Regions from separate parts of the Homo sapiens genome. Here region 2 is linked to region 1. The links are contacts of gene promoters, found by promoter capture Hi-C in human tissues and cell types (Jung and others, 2019). All regions are on one chromosome and are shown on one strand. The core of a region is centred on a gene start or on the middle of the fragment in contact, and the rest is flanking DNA. Distances in the headings are between cores, read along the strand shown. Region 1 holds the start of COL5A3 (collagen type V alpha 3 chain). Region 2 has its middle 9.8 kb from the start of DNMT1.

The links. Contacts are between HindIII fragments. The study calls those that stand out against the background at their distance.
Region 2: a fragment that was not itself captured here is called in contact with the fragment with the promoter of COL5A3 in region 1 in 1 of the 25 tissues and cell types used here (pancreas).

What each region holds. Positions count from the first base shown.
Region 1 is chr19:10,009,170-10,012,414 of GRCh38, reverse strand. COL5A3 (collagen type V alpha 3 chain) reads left to right here and starts at 1,911. Exons shown (of 67, transcript NM_015719.4): 1 at 1,911-2,117. The coding sequence starts at 2,030. The HindIII fragment of the contact is 11,359 bases long and covers 1-3,245 here.
Region 2 is chr19:10,203,264-10,206,262 of GRCh38, reverse strand. No RefSeq gene overlaps it. Among named protein-coding and RNA genes, the nearest start is that of DNMT1, 9.8 kb to the right of the region's middle. The HindIII fragment of the contact is 3,473 bases long and covers 8-2,999 here.

The DNA.
Region 1 (3,245 bases), core at 662-3,161:
TCTTTTAGTTGGAGAAGTCTCAGCCTCAGATGTCCCTGGGGTGGGAGGAGGCACAGCTTACAGAGATACCCTCTCCTCCTCCCACCCTGGGGGGCCCCCATCTCCCCCTCAGGCTTGATGGGGCCCCAACCCCTCCTCTTCAGGGACACAGAGACTCTTTGTCTGGGGAGTCAGAGGCTGGGAGGGAGGCACTGCTTGCGTCTCCCTCTTCCCCTGGGGCGGAGGTGGGGGAAGCAGGGTTCGGGGAGCAGTTCAGGGCTCAGAATACGCCTCTTGGTTCCTCCCCTCCCTGGGGAAACACCCTCACATCCTGCGTGTCTGCGCTTGTCCAATTGCATAAAAGCTCTATTTGACCTCATGGGGGCCTCTTCATGCTGGAGGTGGGGGTCCCAGCACGGTGAGGGGGGCCTCTGCCTCATCCCAAGAATGGCAAGAATCCACCCCTTCCTCCCCAGTGGCTGTGCGTTGCTTTGCGACAGGGACAGATTCCCACCACCTCCCACCAACGCGCCGGCCTTTTTTTTTGAGACAGACAGAGTCTTGCTCTGTTGTCCAGGCTGGATCGCAGTGGCACAACCTCAGCTCACTGCAACCTCCACCTCCCGTGTTCAAGTGATCCTCCCACCTCAGCCTCCCAAGTAGCTGGGACTACAGGCGCCAGTCACAATGCCTGGCTAATTTTTGTATTTTTAGTAGAGATGGGGTTTCGCCATGTTGGCCAGCTGATCTCTAACTCCTGGACTCAAGCGATCTGCCCGCCCCAGCCTCTCAAAATGCTGGGATTACAGGCATGAGCCACCGCACCCAGCTCAGACTCCCTCATTTGGTGGGGATTTGGGATTGAGGCCGGGGCATCCACTGGAGACCTGAGTTGGGGCGGGGGGAGATGAGGGTTAGGGATGGAGATGAGACCCTTTATTTGAGGAATCAAGAATTTGGGGAAAGTGAAAACTGTGTTTTGGGATCTGTGGTGAGAATTTGGGACCAGGACACGTGACTTAGGGATTTGAGTGGACAGATGAAGGTTTGGAGTAAGGCTGGGGACCCCATTTTGGGATCTGGGGTGAGATTTGAGGTGGGATGAGGACCCGTTAGGGACTTGAAGGAAAGGCTTTGGGGCTGAGGCTGGTACCTCCTATTGTGCAGCTGAGGGACTGAGGATAAAGCAGGTAGGTGAGTGAGAGTTCGGGGTGAGGTTGGGACCCCAGTTGGGGGCCTGAGTGAGGCAGAAAGGACTTGGTGCCAGGGGCGGTGGCTCATGCCTGTAACTCCAGCGCTTTGGGAGGGCAAGGCCGGAGGATCGCTTGAGACCAGAAGTTCAAGACCGGCCTGGGCAGCATAGCAAGATCCCGGTCTCTACAAAATATACATATTTTAAAATTAGCTGGGTGTGGCAGTGTGTGCCTGTGGTACCTGCTTCTCAGGAGGCTGAGGCAGGTGGATGGCTTGAACGCAGGAGTTGGAGGCTGCAGTGAGCTATGATTGCACCACTGCACTCCAGCTTGGGTGACAGATCAAGACCCTGTCTCCAAAATAAAATGTAAAAATAATAGAAAATAAAAAAGATTTGGTATAAAGCTGCACCTCCTCCTAATTCTAGGGCCTGGATGGAGGCTGAAGTCTTGAATGAGGTTAAGGTCTCCTTTGAGGGGATCTGCTAGGCGGAAAAGGTTTGGGGTAAGACTGGAACCCTCGAACTCTAGGGCTGGGTGGGAGTGACCCTTCTCCTCCACAGTGGGGTGGGGCAGGAACAACCCAGCTCCTGGCGCTGGGCTCCACCCCAGCCAGCCAATCAGCCCTCAGCACAAAGTTTCCCAACTTCCCAGTCCAGCTGTCAGCGCTCCCCCTCCAAAAAGCCCCGCCTGGCCAGGCGCTGGAGCGCAGGGCGAGGCCAGGGCGGGGTCTCGGGCAGTTTCCCGCGGACCCTGAGAGGAGCGGCCGCCGCGAGTGACTGCACCGAGCCCGAGAAGTCGCCGCGCCCCGCAGCCGCCCCGACTGGTTCCCCGCCTTGCCCGTGGGCCCCGCCGGGATGGGGAACCGCCGGGACCTGGGCCAGCCGCGGGCCGGTCTCTGCCTGCTCCTGGCCGCGCTGCAGCTTCTGCCGGGGACGCAGGCCGGTGAGCCGGGAGGGAAGAGATGGGACCCAGGGTCCACGACTCAGAGAGGCTCTAAAAGAGCGAGGGGTGGAGGGGGGTGGAGGGGCGTGGAGGGGAAGGGCGTGGGCGCCGCGTGCGGCCCCGGTGTGATGTGGGCGCATGAGTATCTGACTCTGGGTGATTTGTGGGTGTGACAGCTCGGGGTGGGGGTGGGGATGTGTGAGTGCGTTTTCTGGCGAGCGCGTGGGAATGCATGCAATGTGCAGGTGTGTGCATGTGTGTATGTGTGTGTAGCATGTGTGTGCATTTGGAGTGAAGTTGCGTATGTGCTTGCGTGTGGAGGTTGATGGTGATAGTGTGACTGTGAGTGACAGGGCAGTGCTGGGACGGTGTGTATTGCGACAGGTGAGTATGCACTTGTGCTCTTGTCTATGTGCTGATTTTCGAGGGTAACCGTGTGAGTGGTTATGCGTGTGATTGTGTGTCTCTGAGTGCCGCTATGAGGGGTGTAGTTATGATTTTTGGGTGCAAATAATTGCCCATGAGGATGAAGGTGGGTGGGGACAAGTATTGGGGGGTGCTCTTCGGGAACCCACAGTTTCCTTTGCGTCTCTTTAAATGGCTTCACCTCATTCTCCCTTTTCCTCCTCTGCCCCAAATTGGCGAGCGCCCATCTCCTCCCCTCCCTCCCTGTTGCCCCCTCCCCCACCCCGCGGTCCCCAGAGCCGCGATCAGCACCATGGACAGGGCTTCGGGGAGGGCCGCGGTGAGGGGCGAGACGGGGCGGGGCGCAGGGCGGGGCAGGAGTGGAAGTTGCTCCCCCCCTCCCCACCCCAGCTGCTGGAGCCTTGGGTGTTTTTCCCGAGGAATTTCTCAGGAGCCCCCAAGGGGTCCCGGGGGCCGCCGGATGGGTGAGTCAGCGCTGACGCACGCCCAGCTGCGCGCATCTGGCTGGGCGCCCTGTCCCGCCCCTCAGGGTTCAGAGTGGGGGGCGCTTCGGGAGTCAGGGGATGGCGTAGCTTCTCAAGTGTTGGAGATGGGGCTTCCCTGATCTGAGAGACCCTAGACTAGGTCCTCCTGGAAATCCCTTTCTAAGGTGAGCTCAGTCTCCCAACACACACACACACACACACACACACACACACACAC
Region 2 (2,999 bases), core at 495-2,994, 190 kb before region 1:
CATTTACATTTTTTCTTTTTGGTGGGGACAGAGTCTTGTTCTGTCACCCAGGGTGGAGTGCAGTGGCATGATCTTGGCTCACTGCAACCTCCACCTCCCAGGTTCAAGTGATTCTTGTGCCTCAGCCTCCCGAGTAGCTGGAATTACAGGCGCCTGCTACCATGCCCAGCTAATTTTTGTATTTTTAGTAGAGATGAGGTTTCGCCATGGTGGCCAGTCTCGGACACCTGACCTCAAGTGATTCACTTGCCTTGGCCTCCCAGTGTGCTGGGATTACAGGCATGAGCCACCGTGCCCGGCCTAAATTTATTTTTTGTTTTTTAGAGATGTGGACTTACTCTGTTGCCCAGGCTAGAGTGCAGTAGCATGATTATAGCTCACTGCAGCCTCAAATTCCTGTCCTTAAGCAATCCTGCCCCAGCTTCCCAAAGCGCTGGGATCACAGGCATGAACCACCATGCCTGGCCTGGCAAGTCTGTCTTGTGGCATATTAGGAAATGTGACTTTGGAGGCTGAGAGGTGGAGGCAGAGTGAATGCCCATGAAATCTGTACCTGTTTTCTTTTAGAGGCTCCACTTCCTTCTCTCAGGTAAGGCATGAGCCACTGTACTCGACCTTTGTTTGGTCTTTCTTTTCTCCTTTCATTTTTTTTTTTTTTGAGACAGAGTCTCACACTTTCACCCAGGCTGGAGTGCAATGGTGCAATCTCGGCTCACTGCAAGCTCCGCCTCCCGGGTTCACGCCATTCTCCCGCCTCAGCCTCCCGAGTAGCTGGGATTACAGGTGCTCACCACCACGCCCAGCTATTTTTTTTGTATTTTTAGTAGAGACGGGGTTTCACTGTGTTAGCCAGGATAGTCTCGATCTCCTGACCTCGTGATCCGCCCGCCTTGGCCTCCCAAAGTGCTGGGATTACAGGCGTGAGCCACCGCGCCAGGCCTTCTCCTTTCTTTTCTTTTCTCTTTCCTTTCTCTCTCTCTTTCTCTCTCTCTCTTCCTCTCTTTCTCTCTCTTCCTCTTTTTCTCTCTTTCTCTCTCTCTTTCTTTCTCTCTCTTTTTCTCTTTCTCTCTTTCTCTCTCTGTCTCTTTCTCTCTTTCTCTCTCTTTTTCTCTTTCTCTCTTTCTCTCTCTTTCTCTCTCTCTCTTTCTCTCTCTCTCTTTCTCTCTCTCTGTCTCTCTCTCTCTTTCTCTTGCTTTCTCTCTCTCTGTGTGTCTTTCTCTCTCTCTCTTTCTTGATGGAGTCTCACTCTGTTGCCCAGGCTGGAGTGCAGTGGCACAATCTCAGCTCACTACAACCTCAAACTCCCGGGTTCAAGCGATTCTCCTGCCTCAGCCTCCCAAGTAGCTGGGATTATAGGTGTGAGCCACTGCACCCAGCTAATTTTCATATTTTTAGCATAGATGAGGTTTAACCATTTTGGCCAGGCTGGTCTCAAATTCTTGACCTCAAGCGATCCACCTGCCTCGGCCTCCCAAAGTGCTGGGATTACAGGTGTGAGTCACTGTGCCTGGCCCTTTGTTTGAGATTTCTAGTGGTCAAGTGAACAAAGCAAATGACCCAGGAACTGGAGACAAAACTAGGTTTGTAACCTGATCTGGTTTGGGTTTCTGTTTGTGAAATGGAAATGACACTGTTGTTGGGGGAAAAACAACTTTACTTTTATTTATTTTGAGACAGGGTCTCGCTCTGTCGCCCAGGTTGGAGTGCAGTGTTGTGATCTTGGCTCACTGCAACCTCCGCCTCCCGGGTTCAAGCAATTCTCCTGTCTCAGCCTCCTGAGTAGCTGGAACTACAGGTGCATGACACCACACACGGCTAATTTTTGAGGGTTTTTTTTGAGACAGAGTCTTGTTCTGTTGCCCAGGCTTGAGTGCAATGGCACGATCTTGGCTCACTGCAACCTCCGCCTCCTGGGTTCAAGCAATTCTCCTGCCTCAGCCTTCTGGGTAGCCGGGACTACAGGTGCACGCCACCATGCCCAGCTAATTTTTGTATTTTTAGTAGAGACAGGGTTTCACCATGTTGGCCAGGCTGGTCTCGACTCCTGACCTCAGGTGATCTGCCTGCCTTGGCCTCCCAAAGTGCTGGGATTACAGGTGTGAACCATCGTGTCTGGCCTAATTTTTGTGTTTTTAGTAGAGATGGAGTTTCACAATGTTAGCCAGGCTGGTCTCGAACTCCTGACCTCAGGTGATCTACCTGACTTGGCCTCGCAAAGTGCTGGGATTACAGGTGTGAGCCACCATGCCTGGCCTCATGTCCTATATGTTAATTCAACCTATATTTGCATTCCTCTGAAGCTTGTAGTCTGTGGAGGAGTCAGCACACTAAGGCCTGAAGGCCAAATCTGGCTGGCCATCTGTTTTTATAAATAAAGTTTTACTGGAACACAGTCATACCTACTCATTTACATATTGGTGATGGCTATTTCTGCACTTTGATGATGGCAGGTTTGAGTAGTTGGGGCATAGAATGTGTGGCTCATGAAACCCGAAATATTTATCTGGTTCTTTAGAGAAAATGTGTGCCAATCCCTGCTTTGTTCTTGTGGGACAGACAGATTACGATAGATAGTAAATAAGAAAATCTCAGGCTGGGTGCAGTGGCTTACACCTGTAATCCTAGCACTTTGGGAGGCGGAGGCAGGCAGATCACCTGAGTTCAGGAGTTCGAGACCAGCCTGGCCAACATGGTGAAACCCCCGTCTCTACTAAAAAAATACAAAAAATTAGCCAGGTGGTGGGTGCCTGGAATCCCAGCCACTCAGGAAGCTGAGGCAGGATAATTGCCTGAACCTGGAAGATAGAGGTTGCAGTGAGTTGAGATTGCACCACTGCACTCCAGCCTGGGTGACAGAGCAAGACTCTAAGAAAGAAAAAAAAAAAAAAAAAGAATCTTTGACAGTGGTAAATGCTACGAAAAAACAGTAATAGTAAAGCATGACTAGGTGGGTAAAGGGTTGCTTCCCAGTGGTCTGGGGAAGCCTCTGTTTTGAGGCA